Linked DNA regions of Homo sapiens: region 1 is linked to region 2. The links are contacts of gene promoters, found by promoter capture Hi-C in blood cells and fetal thymus (Javierre and others, 2016). All regions are on one chromosome and are shown on one strand. Each heading gives the region's core, a stretch centred on a gene start or on the middle of the fragment in contact. The rest is flanking DNA. Distances are from core to core; before and after follow the strand shown. Region 1 holds the start of DOLPP1 (dolichyldiphosphatase 1). Region 2 holds the start of ENDOG (endonuclease G).

Region 1 (6,835 bases), core at 2,454-4,953, 260 kb before region 2:
GGCACTGGGGGTGGGGTGGGGAGGGTGTGGGCAAGACAGACTCACCGTGTGCAGCTCCCGCTTAAATATGATGAGGGTCACGAAACCGACGATGACAAATACAGGGCTGAGGCTCAGGTAGGCAAGGAGGTGGCCAGAGAGATCACCTGGCAAGACAGAGAACAGAATCAGGAGGACAGGGCACAGGCATCAGAAGAGGGACCAGCCCCCTACAAGTAAGGCCTGATCCAGAAAGGAGGTCCCGGCAGGGCCTGGAGAATGGAGGCCAGGCAGCCAGGGACACCTGTTTACCGGCCGATTGTGCCAACTCAGTCACAGCCATACGTGATGCTGTCTACTACTTAGCACTAAAGTGCACACAGCATGCGTTTAAAGCAGGTGCCTTCACTGTTCCCATTCTATAGATGAAGAAACTGAATTCCAGAGCAACTATGTGACTCGCCCAAGGTCACACAGCCAGAAGGAGGTGGGACCAGGACTAAAGTCCAAGTCTCTGACCTGTTCCAGACACTAGACCAATCCCTCCTGCCAAAGCAGGAAGGTGAACCCGGCCTGGTGACTCCAGAGGTGGAGCCTGGGACCTGGGAGGCAGCCCGGCAGGCACATGAGAGCCACACACTGTTGTGCTGGGGCTGCCCTGGCTGAGCCCTGGGCCTCCAGGGAAATCCGACGTTCTCTGGACACCACACAGACTTGGGTCCACACTGAAGACTCGGACAGAAACCAAGCCCAATAGGGCGACGGTAACAGCTGCGCGCCACTTCTCTGGCAGGAAACTGCCTACCTATTGATTACCAGCTTCTGACACTCCCATCACTCCTGGGATGGAGGCAGCAGAGGAACACTGGCCCCTTTTAGGAGATGGGGACACTCAAGCTGAGAATCCAAGGGCAGGGGAGGCTGAGTCTGAAGGCCACCCTCACCACTTGAGACAGGCAGCTATGTAGCCACTCTGGGGTCTGAGAGCATGGTTCAGCTCCTATGCCCACACTCACTGGCTGCATGAACTGAGGCAAGGATTCAAGCCTCAGCTCACCCACTTGTGGAATAGGGATATCAGTGCCTACCTCCTACAGCTGCATGAGACTCAATGAGATGGGACCTGTGAGACACCCAGCTTGGTCCCTGGCAACCAGGACACTTCCATGTTGGGGCAGAGGTGGAGAGAACCCAGTGTGGGAAATGGTCCATGCCACCAGCCTCACACAAGCAGCAGGGAAGTTGTCCACAGAGGGCTGAGCCCAGATTCCAGGGCTGAAGACATAGACACACACATGCCCGGTCTCATCCACACACAGGATCCTACCCAGCCCATCCTACCCAGGATCAGACTGGCCTGGAGTTGGTCTGGGAGAGCAGAGCAGCCCAGCTAAGTGCCTGGGGTCAAGTGCTGGTGCTGCCACAGTCCCACTGGGTGACAGTGGGTGAGTCCCTTCTCTTTCCTGGGCCTCTCCACTATGAAGCTCACCCTCACAGCACTGGGCTATGAAGATAGTGAGTGACTGGTACCCCCAAAGCTTTAGCCATCTCCATAGCCTGTCCCAGAGCCAGCACTACCCTGGGGTTTTCCTGAAGATGCTACCAGGGACTCTGGCCTCTCTACTCTCTGATCCAAGCCCCCTCAGGCCTCCCACTGCCCTTAGGACAAGTTCCCCCTCAGCCCAGCTCATCTGGCCCTGCACAGTCCTGGCCCTGCTTCCCTCTCAACCTCTGCTCCAGTTCCAAGGACCAAACTCGAGTTCCCTGAGCGCATCGTGCCCTGTCCTACTTCTGGACCTTTGCACACAGTTTCCCCCCACCTGGGACGCTCTCTGGGTGAACTCAACAAACAACTAAGAACCCACCACAGTGGCAAAAAAAAAGACACATATGTCCCTGCTAGTGCAGAGCTTGAGGTCTGACGGGAGAATCTGCCATCCAGACTCAGTTCATGATCCACTAATGTAGATATCAGGACAGCATCTGGGAGTAGAGACAGGGTCTCTTTATATCCCACTCTATCCCCCAAGCCCAGCACAGGGCCTGGCTCTTAACTGGGCTCAAAAACTGTTGAATGAATGAAGTAAGCAAGTGACGGTGTGAAGAGGGGTGTGACGGAGAAGTGCAGGGAACCATGGAAGCATTAATAGGGGACTAGACCTCACCAGATGCTCCAGGCTCAGCCAGGTCCATCACAGCCTGTATCATGCTGCACACAACTGCCTGCCAGGTTCCTTCTGGCTTGTTGGATTGTGAGCACTCCAAGAAGCTACTCTGAGGCCAGGAGGGGAAGCTGTGAAGGTGCAGAGGCCTTAGCAAGTCTTTCCCCACCTCCAGGCTTTGGCTTTCCTCTTATAAAGCAGCTGGTTTTCATAGTGCAGGAATGCAGGGATATTTCAGGCCTGTTAAGCATTCTAAAAACCAGAGCTAGCCCAGGGCCTAGCACTCAGAAGTGTTCAGTGGATATTGACTGAATGAATGAATGGATGAATGAATGGTAGACAGGCAGGCAGGCAGGGCCCAGGACCTGGCAGGGCCATACCACCCCCAGTACAACCCAGAACACCAGCGTCAACGTTCTTTGGCATTCAGTCCTGGTGCCCTCAGCGGACCCAGGTTCTCACATCTCGCAAGACAGCAGCATGAGCAGGCCCTTCCCAGGCAACCAGGGCTCAATGAGGGGCTCCAGCCTTCCCTGGCACTCAACCATCTTACCCAGGGAGGGTCTTGCAAGGTGGGATAACATTAACTGCAGGTATTTACTGAACGCTTACTGCATGCCGGGCACTGTACTCAGCCCTTCTTGTGCCTCCTGCTATTTGATGCTCATACCATCACCAGAAGGTAAGCACTGTAATCAGTCCCACTTTAGAGATGAATTAACTTAAGCAGAGGCAGGCACCTGCACAAGGCCTCAGCCTCAACTGGAGCCCAGATGGGTCTGACCCCCACGCCCAGGCTCTGCGCCACTCTTACTAGACAGCCTCCAGAACGCCGCTAATGGACCTCTCAACTGGAAAGCCCTGCACTTCGAGAGGTGTGTCTGATGGGAAGCAACAGAAGTCAAGTTCCCGGAGGCTGCCCGCCCCCTCATCGGGTCCTCTCTGTTGTGGAATCGTGCCCTGCTCAGGGCGTGGCACCACAAGTACTCAAAAGCCTGGCTTCGGCTTGCACACTCCCAGCAACGGGGAGCTCTTTCTCTTACAAGCAGCCCAAAGCACTGTTCGAAGGAAACAAGACACTCCCTGCACGCTGGAACAGGAGTGCGGCCTCTCTGGGACAGGGGAGGGCGGGGAAGAAGGGCCAAGGTCCAGGCCAGGGATCTTTTCTCGCCTCACACAGATCCTCAACCCATTTCAGCCCACCGGCGCCCCGGGACCCGGGGGAGCGCCCTGGCCGCGCAGCCGCAGAGTGCGCGAGCGAGCGCCTCACAATTTCGCCCAGCTCATCCTCGCACCACTGCGCCTGCGCGGCGCGCGCGCCGGCCGAGCCCCTCCGTGGTTCACTATTTGACAGTTCCCACCCCGGTCCCCCGGCGCCCCCTCCGCGGGCTCGAGCAGGCCGGAGCGCCCGGGACTGAGAGGCCGTCCCTGGGAAGGCGTCCTTGGAGCCGGGACCGCCTTTTACCTGCAGGATATTCGACGTGGGTGAGGGTCACCGGCCGCCATGAAGCGGGGAGCGAGCACTGTCCGTCCGCTGCCATCTTACCCGGAGACCGGGCTTCTTCGAGCAGCCAATGGGGAGCCAGGGGGGCGGTGGTCCTGACCTATCACGCCGGGGAGGCGCCGTGCACCCAATCGGAGGCCAATATAGGTAGCGGCGCAGCCATTCAGCGTGCAGGCCGTGGGGGCTGGCCCGAGCGGCGAATCAGAGAGCGGGGCCCCTGGGAGCCAACGAGCCGCCCCAGCTGGCGCCCAATCTGGGGCGAGCGCAGGTAGGCATCTGGCCAATCAGAGAAGGGGAGGGTTCCAGCACCGAACAGGGAGCATAACAGCCAATCAGAAGGTGAGGCTGCCTCAGCTTGTGGGCAGGGCGGGCCAATCAGGCGCTGGCTTTGGGGGCGTGTTGAACTTTGGTGGGAGCTTTGGTTCGGCTGGGACCTGCGCCCTGAATGAAGGCTTCCCTGGTACCCCCTGCCGATCCGCGGTCTTGGGGACCTGCGCGTCCGATAGCGCGTGCTCGAAGAGGAGAGGCAACCTCAGCTCCAGGGGGTTTGAACCGACCCACTTTCAGTTACGAGTAAACTGAGACCAGAGAGCAGAGGGGGCTTATTTCCCTCTGCCCCATACTGGCCGGCGAAAGGGCAAGTCACACAGAGCAGGCGACCTTTTTGTCAAAAGTGTGTGGGGCGGGGCGCGCAGTAGGCGCCCTAAACGCTGGACTGAACAGAGAAGCTTAATTGATACTTAAGAGTGGAAGCTTAGCTACAGTTAAGGACTCCTTCCTCCTTTCATTCATTTAATAAAGATTTATTGATTCAGTCACGTCTATGCTACTTAATGAGGCGTCTTGGGAGCATTTCAAACAAGAAGTCGGTTTTCCACCTACCCCTCAGTTTTCCCAAGACATTCCTGCGTGAACAGCCACACCTTCCCACCCGCCTTCACCTCTCCTACCCGACTCTGTCTCTGGCTGGATTGGATTACAGTGCAGGTAAGGTGGGCTGGGAGGGCTCAGCCTCTTGTCTCCTGCCGCTAGCATGTGCTGTTTTTGTCTGTTTGTTTGTTTTTTGAGACAGGGTCTTGCTCTGAGGCCCAGGCTGGAGTGCAGTGGAACGATCTTGCTCAGCCTCCTGGGTCCAAGTGATTCTCCTGTCTCAGCCTCCCGAGTAGCTGTGACTACAGGCGCGCACCACCGCATCCGGCTAATTTTTGCATTTTTAGTAGAGACCGGGTCTTACCATGTTGGGCAGGCTGGTCTCGAACTCCTGGCCTCAGGTGATCCACCTGCCTCGGCTCCCAAAATGCTGAGATTACAAGCGTGAGCCGCCATGCCCAGCTAATTTTTTTTTTTTTTTTTTGAGACGGAGTCTCGCTCTGTTGCCCAGGCTGGAGTGCAGTGGCACGCCCGGCTAATTTTCGTACTTTTCGTAGAGACGGGGTTTCACCGTGTTGGTCAGGATGGTCTTGATCTCCTGACCTCGTGATCCGCCCACCTCGGCCTCCCAAAGTGCTGGGATTACAGGTGTGAGCCACCGCCCCTGGCCACCATGTGCTGTTTTGCTGCGTGGGATGTACTGCCTCTCCTGCCCTACTTTGCCCGGCCCAATCTGGTTCAGGTGTCTCCTCGGCTTACAGGTTTCCACAGTCAAGTGAGGGGCCAGTACTGGGCTCTCACGGTTGCATTTCCTGTCCTTTCTCAGCCCTGACCTCACTGGACTGTAATCGGCTCCCTATCCCTCCCAGTCAGCAGCGGCTCTCAGATTCATGGAGTGCTGAGATCAGCCTGTAGAAAACACAGATTCCTGGGTCACAATGGGGCCTGGGTTGATCCAGTAGGTCTGAGTTGGAGCCCAGGTGTCTGCATTCTTATGTGCTCTGGTGGTTCTGATACAGGTGGTTACAGCCACCACTGGAGAAACCCTGGGCAACATGAGGACAGGGCCTGGTACATCCTGAGCCTGGTCCAGACCAGACCTAGAGCAAGTGTCTGATAAGTGACACGAGCGCCCCTGAGGTGAGTTGAGAATTACCCAGGAAATCCCACTGAGAGTGGCTCTTTCTGCGAGTGGCCAGGCCAGTAGAGCGGGGACCGTGAGCTGGCCTGTGTGGCCGGAGATGATGGCGACTCAGAACCCACCAAAGAGCCCAGAAGGCCCACTGCCCTGCTGTGCGCACTCCCAGCCTGGGCTCGTCGGGGTCAGCTGGCCTCGGTTTCCTCAGGCACTGTCATTATTAGCCTCTGAGAAGCAGGAGGTGTGAGGAGCGGGCCGGGAGCTTCTCAGAATAGTTCCCTGGGACAGGACAGCCATCCATGATCTGGGCCACATTGCCGCTCCCAAATAGGCCTTGGGAGCAAAGTCCATGAAATGCAGGCCTGTCAGTGCTGGGAGCCTCCCGAGGGAGGATGAGGATGAGGAACTATGAAATGAGAGGGAGTTACCCAGGGAGGGTTTTCCTGGCAGAGAGAACAGTGTAAGCCAGTGTCCTGGGGCCCGCGTGTGGCTGGATGAAGTGGGCAAGAGGGAAAGAAGGGGTAAGGTGGTGGGGAGGAGGCCCACAGGGGCCTGACCACCCGAAACTTTGAGGGCACTGTTAATGGTGGGGACAGAGGGAAGCTCTGAAGGATGGGTTTGTTGTTGGGTTTGGTTTGGTTTTCTTGTTTAAAATAGAACATTCAGGGCAGGCACCGTGACTAAACCTGTAGTCCCAGCACTTTGAGAGGCCGAGGCGGGAGGATCGCTTGAGCCCAGGAGTTCAGGACTAGCTGGGCAATACAGCAAGACTTCATCTCTACAAACAAATTTTTAAAAATTAGCCAGGCATGGTGGTGCACACCTATGGTCCCAGTTACTCGGGAGGCTGAGATGGGAGGATCACATGAGCTGGGGAGGTAAAGGCTACAGTGAGCTGTGATCCTGCCGCTACACTTCAGCCTGGGCAGCAGAGCAAGACCCTGTCTCAAAAATATGGCTGGGTTGTAATCCCAGCACTTTGGGAGGCCGAGGCAGGTGGATCACCCGAGGTCAGGAGTTCAAGCCCAGCCTGGCCAACATGGTGAAACCCCGTCTCTACTAAAAATACAAAAATTAGCTAGGCATGGTGGCACATGCCTATAATCACAGCTACTTGGGAGGTTGAGGGAGGAGAATTGCTTGAATGTGGAGGTGGAGGTTGCAGTGAGCGGACATCACACC
Region 2 (7,014 bases), core at 370-2,869:
TGTCTGCCTCGAAACTGCCTGAAGGCAGGCAGGGTAGGACAATGTCTGGAGGCTCACGGTTTTATAGACTAGGGGTCCCCAACCCCTGGGCTACAGACCGGTACCAGAACCGGGCCACACAGCAGGAGGTGAGCAGCAGGCGAGCAAGGGAAGCTTCATCTGTATTTACAGCCACCCCCCCATTGATCCCACAGCAGCCTGAGCTCCGCCTCCTGTCAGATCAGTGGCGGCTGGAGATTGTCATAGGAGCTGGAACCCTATGGTGAACTGCGCATGTGAGGAGGTTGCGCGCTTCTTTTGAAAACCTAATGCCTGATCTGTCGTTGTTGCCCATCACCTCCAGATAGGACTGTCTAGTTGCAGGAAAACAAGCTCAGGGCTCCCACGGATCCTACATTACTGTGAGTTGTATATTTCACTATATGTTACAATGTAATAATAATAGAAATAAAATGTACATAAATGTAACGCACTTGAATTATCCTGAAACCCGCCCTCACCCACCAAGCCGTGGAAAAACTGTCTTCCACGAAACCGCACCCTGGTGCCCAATAGGTTGGGCGCTGCGGTTCTACAACAGACAGCCTTCTTCTGCTGTGTGACACTGTGCCCGTCACTTTGCCTCTGTGAGCCTCAGCGCCTCATCACTACCGCAGGAGGAAGGTGAATAACGGTATTATCCCCATTTTTTTGACGAGGAAAGCGACGCTCAGGGAGGTGCCCAGGGTTCGCAGTTGAAGCTCAAGCCCTGGTCGGCCTGCAGACCCTGTGCCTGGAGCCCAGTGCTCCTCCCTCCCGCCACGGGATGTCACTGCGATGCCTGACCGGGGGCGCGTTGGGCAGCTGCCCCGTTCTGCAGAAGAACAAACCGAGGCCCCGCGAGGCCAGGCGCCGGCCCCGCATTCCGCGACCGGCCCGGGGCGCGGGCGCTACCTGGGGCGCGACGTTGCTCAGGTAGAACGTGTCGTCCATGGCCTTCTGGCTCCAGCGGTGGTTGGCGGCGGCGGCCAGGTGACCGCGGTCGAAGCCACTGCCGCGGTAGTCGGCGTTGGTGGCACGGTGGTACGCGTGCACCGAGTCGTCCTCGCGGAAGTCGCACTCGCGCCGGTCGCCGTCGCCGCGGAGACGCTCGGGTCGCAGCTGCTCCACCACCCAGAGCGCGCCGCGGGTGCGCGGGTCGTAGCACAGCACGTACGACTCGCGGCTCTTGAGCTGCGCCAGCCCCGGCAGCCCGTACTTGGCCAGCTCGCCCGGGCCGCGGGGTCCCCCGGGCACAGGGGGCAACTCGGCTGCCGCCGCCACGGGCAGCACGGGCAGCCGGCCCAGCAGTCCCGGCGCCGCCCGCGCGTCCTCCCGCCGCCGCCGCCAGCCCTCGACGACCGCACCCAGCCCCGCGCCCGACGCCAGGGTCAGGCCGGCCCGCAGCGCCCGCATGGCCGGGGAGCGACCTAGCGGCGGGCGACCCGCGAGGCTCTTAAAGGAGCCGCGTCGCGGGATCCAACGAGGGCACAGGGCTGCTGGGGCCGCGGACGATAGCGTGACCTCCCTTCCACTCACAAACACTGCCAAGGGCTTGGGCCTCGGAACCCAGAAGGGAGCAGCAGAGCCCAACCGGGTGTCCCCGGCGTCCTTTCTTTGCGCATTTAAGACGCCGGTATGAGGGGCGTGGCATCGTCGCCTCAGCTCGCGATTGGCCACCATCAGGCCTGGCTCCGCACCCGCCTCGCAGGCCCCCTGCTGGTCGTGGGGTGGGAGACACTCTCTCCTCTGCGCCTGCGCAGGGAGCTCCTGCTTAATACGCTCCGCGGAAGGGTCAAGCACTGTCGAAAGCTTTTACTGTCACTGCTTAGTCTCACCCTCTACACCGCTCGGAGAGTGAGCTCCTAGTTCGCAGAGCAGGCACAGGGCCCCAGGTATATCTGGCCCTAGGCTATCCTCCATGACACCATAAAATAAGCCCCGCAATTCTACCAGATTGGCAAAGGTTTCTTTTTTTTTTTTTTTTTTTTTGAGACGGAGTTTCGCTCTGGTCGCCCAGACTCGAGTGCAATGGCGTGATCTCGGCTCACTGCAACCTCCGCCTCACAGGTTCAAGCGATTCTCCTGCTTCAGCCTCCCAAGTAGCTGGGATTACAGGCATGCGCCACCACGCCCGGCTAATTTTGTATCTTTAGTAGAGACAGGGTTTCTCCATGTTGGTCAGGCTGGTCTCAAACTCCCGACCTCAGGCGATCCGCCGGCCTCGGCCTCCCAAAGTGTTGGCATTACAGGCGTGAGCCACCGCGCCCGGCCCAGATTGGCAAAGATTTTAATTAACAGCAGTTTGAGGACAAGGATGCAGACGGCTGATGCTGGCTGCTGGCTGGAACAGAAACCTGGGGCGAATATTCCAAAAAACAGCTTGACAGTACAGTACAAGCGAAGCCTTAAAAAGGTTCATACCGTTCAACCCACGCAGAGGGCTGAGCTGGGGAAATCTCGGGAATGCAAGGATCTCGAACGCAAATATTCACCAGAGTATTACACTGCCGGCAGGAATAAGCAAAATATTCAGAAATATGGACTGGTTAAGGACTTTTATTTTTTGAGACGGAGTCTCACTCTATTGCCCAGGCTGGAGTGCAATGGCGTGATCTCCGCGCAGTGGAACCTCTGCCTCCCAGGTTCAAGTGATTCTCCTGCCTCAGCCTCTGAAGTAGCTGGGATTACAGGCGCGCACCACCAGGCCCAGCTAATTTTTTTTTTTTTTTGAGACGGAGTCTCGCTCTGTCGCCCAGGCTCACTGCAACCTCCGCCTCCTTGGTTCAAGCGATTCTCGTGCCTCGGCCTCCTGAGTAGCTGGGACTACAGGCGCGCGCCACCACGCCCAGCTAATTTTTGTACTTTTAGTAAAGAATGGGTTTCACCATGTTGGCCAGGCTGGTCTCGAACTAACTCCTGACCTTGTGATCCACCCACCTTGGCCTCCCAAAGTGCTGGGGTTATAGACATGGGCCACCCAACCCAGCCACTCTTAGCATTTTTTTTTCCTTTAAGGAAAATAAGGTCTTGTGCTGTCACCCACACGGAGTGCAGTGGCAAGATCACAGTTCACTGCAGCCTTGACCTCCTGGGCTCAAGCCATCCTCCTGCCTCACCCTCCCGAGTAGCTAGGACCACAGACACATATCATGATGCCTGGCTAACTTTTAAATTTTTTATAGAGATGGGGCCTCGCTATGTTGTCCAGGCTGGTCTTGAACTCCTGGCCTCCAGTGATCCTCCTGCCTTGGCCTCCCAAAGTTACAGGCATGAGCCACTAAGCCCTCCTGAGGTCAGTAGTTTGAGACCAGCCTGGCCAACATGGCGAAACCCTGTCTCTACTAAAAATACAAAAATTAGCTGGGCATAGTGGACCGTGCCTGTAATCCCACCTACTGGGGGACTGAGGCAAGAGGATTGCTTGAACCTGGAGGGCGGAGGTTGCAGTGAGCCGAGATCATGCCACTGCACTCCAGCCTGGGCAACAGAGTGAGACTCTGCTTCAAAAAAAAATATGGGACAGGGTCTTGCTTTGTTGCCCAGGCTGTTCTTGACCTCCTGGGATCAAGTGATCTGTGGGCCTCAGCCTCCTGAGTAAATGGGACTACAGGCTATGGTGTATCACCATACCCAGCTACTTTCAGCAATTTTGAAATATACATTAACTATAGTGACCATGCTGTAGTTTGTGTTTTTTTTTTTTGGAGACAGAGTTTTGCTCTTGTTGCCCAGGCTGGGGTGCAATGGCGTGATCTCGGCTCACCACAACCTCTGCCTCCCAGGTTCAAGTGATTCTCCTGCCTCAGCCTCCCGAGTAGCTGGGATTACAGGCATGTGTCACCATCCCCAGCTAATTTTTTGTATTTTTAGTAGAGACAGGGTTTCTCCATGCTGGTCAGGCTGGTCTCGAACTCCCGACCTCAGATGATCCACCCACCTCAGTCTCCCAAAGTGCTGGGATTACAGGTGTGAGCCATCGCACCTGGCCATACCATGCTATAGTTCTAAAAAAAAAACATTCCTGGGCCGGGTATGGTGGCTTAGGCCTGTAATCATAGCCCTTTTGGAGGCCAAGGTGGGAGGATTGCTTGAACCAAGGAGTTCAAGACCAGCCTGGGCAACATAGTAAGACCCCCGTCTCAAATTAAAAAAAAAAAAATCCTCCTGTCTAGCTGAAACTGTACCCTTTGACCAACATTTCCCCATTCCCCACCGCCCCAACTCCCACCAATCCCCAGACTCTGGTACCATCATTCTACTCTCCACCTCTATGAGTTGTTTTACATTCCGAATATAAGTGAAACCATGTCGTGTTTGTCTTTCTGTGCCTGGCTTATTTCACCTACCGTAACGTCCTCTAGGTTCTTCCATGTTGTCACAAATGACAGAATCTCCTTTTTTTTTTGAGGGTGAATCTCGCACTGTTGCCTGGGCTGGAGTGCAATGGCACAATCTTGGCTCACTGCAACCTCCCCCTCCCAGGTTGACGCAATTCTCTTGCCTCAGCCTCCTGAGTAGCTGGGATTACAGGTGCACACCACCACGCTCGGCTAATTTTGTTGTATTTTTAGTAGAGATGGGGTTTCACTATGTTGGCCAGACTGGTCTTGAACTCCTGACCTCGTGATCCACCTGCCTCAGCCTCCCAAAGTGCTGGGATTACAGGCGTTAGCCACCACGCCCGGCCTTGTCTTTTTTTTATAAGCCATTCTGACAGGTGTGAGGTGGTATCTCATTTTGGTTTTAATTTGCATTTCCCAGATGATCCATGCATTGTTCAGCATTTTTTCAGATAGTTGCCAGAAATTTTTATGTCTTTTTTTATTTTTTTTTGAGACAGAGTCTGGCTCTGTCACCAGGCTGGAGTGCAGTGGCTCGATCTCGGCTCACTGCAACCTCCGCCTCCTGGGTTCAAGCACACACCACTATGCCCATCTAATTTTTGTATTTTTAGTAGAGACGGGGTTTCACCATGTTGGCCAGGATGGTCTTGATCTCTTCACCTGGCGATTCGCCTGCCTCAGCCTCCCAAAGTGCTGTATGTCTTCTTTTGAGAAATATCTATTCAGGTCCTTTGCGTGTTGTTTAAATCACATTGTTTTCTTGCTATTGAGATTTTTGTTTGTTTCTGTTTTTGTTTTTTAGACAGAGTCCTGCTCTGTCACCCAGGCTGGAGTGCAGTGGCACGATCTCGGCTCACTGCAACCTCCGCCTCTGGGTTCAAGTGATTCTTGTGCCTCAGCCTCCTGGGTAGCTGGGATTACAGGCACCCACCACCACTCCTGGCTAATATTTTTGTAGTTTTAGTAGAGACTGGGTTTCACCATATTGGCCAGGCTGGTCTTGAACTCCGGACCTCAGGTGATCCACCCGCCTCCGCCTCCCAAAGTGCTTGAATTACAGGCATGAGCCACCATGCCCAGCTGCTACTGAGATGTTTTAAGTACTTATATATCTTGGATATTAACCCCTTATCAGATGTATGGTTTGCAAATATAATCATGCATCACATAAAGATATGTAATCCAAGCTACCCTGGGATGCTGAGGCATGAGAATTCCTTGTACCCCGGAGGCTGAGGTTGCAGTGAGCTGAGATCGTGCCACTGCACTCCAGCCTGGGCGACAGAGCGAGACTCTATCTCAAAAAAAAAAACAAACCAAAAAAAGTATGCCAGGCTAGGTGGCTCACACCTGTAATCCCAGCACTTTGGGAGGCCGAGGCAGGTGGATCACAATGTCAGGAGTTCAAGACCAGCCTGGCCAACACGGTGAAACACTGTGTATACTAAAAATACAAAAATTAGCCGGGTGTGGTGGCACACACCTGTATTCCCAGCTACTGGGGAGGCTGAGGCAGGAGAATTGCTTGAACCCGGGAGGCAGAGGTTGCAGTGAGCCGAGGTAGTGTCACTGCACTCAAGCCTGGGTGACAGAGAGAAACTCTTGTCTCAAAAAAAAAAGTAATAATAATAAAAAATAAAGAATGATACACCTGTCTGTATAAAGCGCTTACCATGAATGGAGCTTCTGGGACAGGAAGTTGCTCTGCGTGGGTCACTGAGGAGTGAATGTGAAGGCCCAGAACAAAGTCTACTCTACGCTACTGTAGACTTTATCAACACTATATTTAGGCTACACTAAATTTATTTGAAATACTTCTTTCTTCAATAATAAACCTTAGCTTACTGTAACTTTTACTTTTTTTTTTTTTTTTAGGCGGAATCTTGCTCTGTTGCCCAGGCTGGAGTGCAGTGGCGCGATCTTGGCTCACTGCAAGCTCCGCCTCCTGGGCTCACGCCATTCTCCTGCCTCAGCCTCCCGAGTAGCTGGGACTACAGGCGCCCGCCACCACACCTGGCTAATTTTTTGTATTTTTAGTAGAGACGGGGTTTCACTGTGTTAGCCAGGATGGTCTCGATCTCCTGAACTCGTGATCTGCACGCCTTGGGCTCCCAAAGTGCTGGGATTACAGGTGTGAGCCACCGCGCCCAGCCACTGTAACTTTTACTTTACGAGTTTTTATTTATTTATTTATTTATTTATTTATTTATTTTGAGACAGAGTCTCACTCTGTTACCCAGGCCAGAGTGCAGTGGCACAATCTCAGCTCACTGCAACCTCCACCTCCCAGGTTCAAGTGATTCTGCTGCCTCAGTCTCCAAGTGAGTAGCTGGGATTACAGGTGCCTGCCACCACGCCTAGCTAATTTTTGTATTTTTATTTTATTTATTTTATTTTTTTTTTTGAGACAGAGTCTCACTCTGTCACCAAGCTGAAGTACAGTGGTGCCATCTCTGGTCACTGAAATCTCCGCCTCCCAGGTTCAAGCGATTCTCCTGCCTCAGCCTCCCGAGTAGCTGGGAATAGAGGCGGGCATCACCACACCCAGCTAACTTTTGTATTTTTAGTAGAGATGGGGTTTCACCATGTTGGCCAGGATTGTCTCCATCTCCTGACCTCGTGATCTGCCCACCTAGGCCTCCCGAAGTGC

What was found. Contacts are between HindIII fragments. The CHiCAGO score rates a contact against its expected background, and 5 or more counts as called.
Region 1: the fragment with the promoter of DOLPP1 here is called in contact with the fragment with the promoter of ENDOG in region 2 in 3 of 17 cell types (endothelial precursors, fetal thymus and M0 macrophages); the score reaches 7.7 in endothelial precursors.

The regions. Positions count from the first base shown.
Region 1 is chr9:129,077,979-129,084,813 of GRCh38, reverse strand. It overlaps DOLPP1 (dolichyldiphosphatase 1), which reads right to left and starts at 3,703. Exons shown (of 8, transcript NM_020438.5): 1 at 3,607-3,703; 2 at 46-146. The coding sequence starts at 3,682. RefSeq lists a silencer at 3,276-4,005. The HindIII fragment of the contact is 2,856 bases long and covers 1,520-4,375 here.
Region 2 is chr9:128,813,105-128,820,118 of GRCh38, reverse strand. ENDOG (endonuclease G) reads right to left here and starts at 1,619. Exons shown (of 3, transcript NM_004435.2): 1 at 934-1,619. The coding sequence starts at 1,434. It overlaps KYAT1-SPOUT1 (KYAT1-SPOUT1 readthrough), which reads left to right. Exons shown (of 25, transcript NR_182311.1): 25 at 1-468. SPOUT1 (SPOUT domain containing methyltransferase 1) reads left to right here. Exons shown (of 12, transcript NM_016390.4): 12 at 1-468. RefSeq lists enhancers at 616-705, 656-1,221 and a silencer at 1,326-1,385. The HindIII fragment of the contact is 1,677 bases long and covers 156-1,832 here.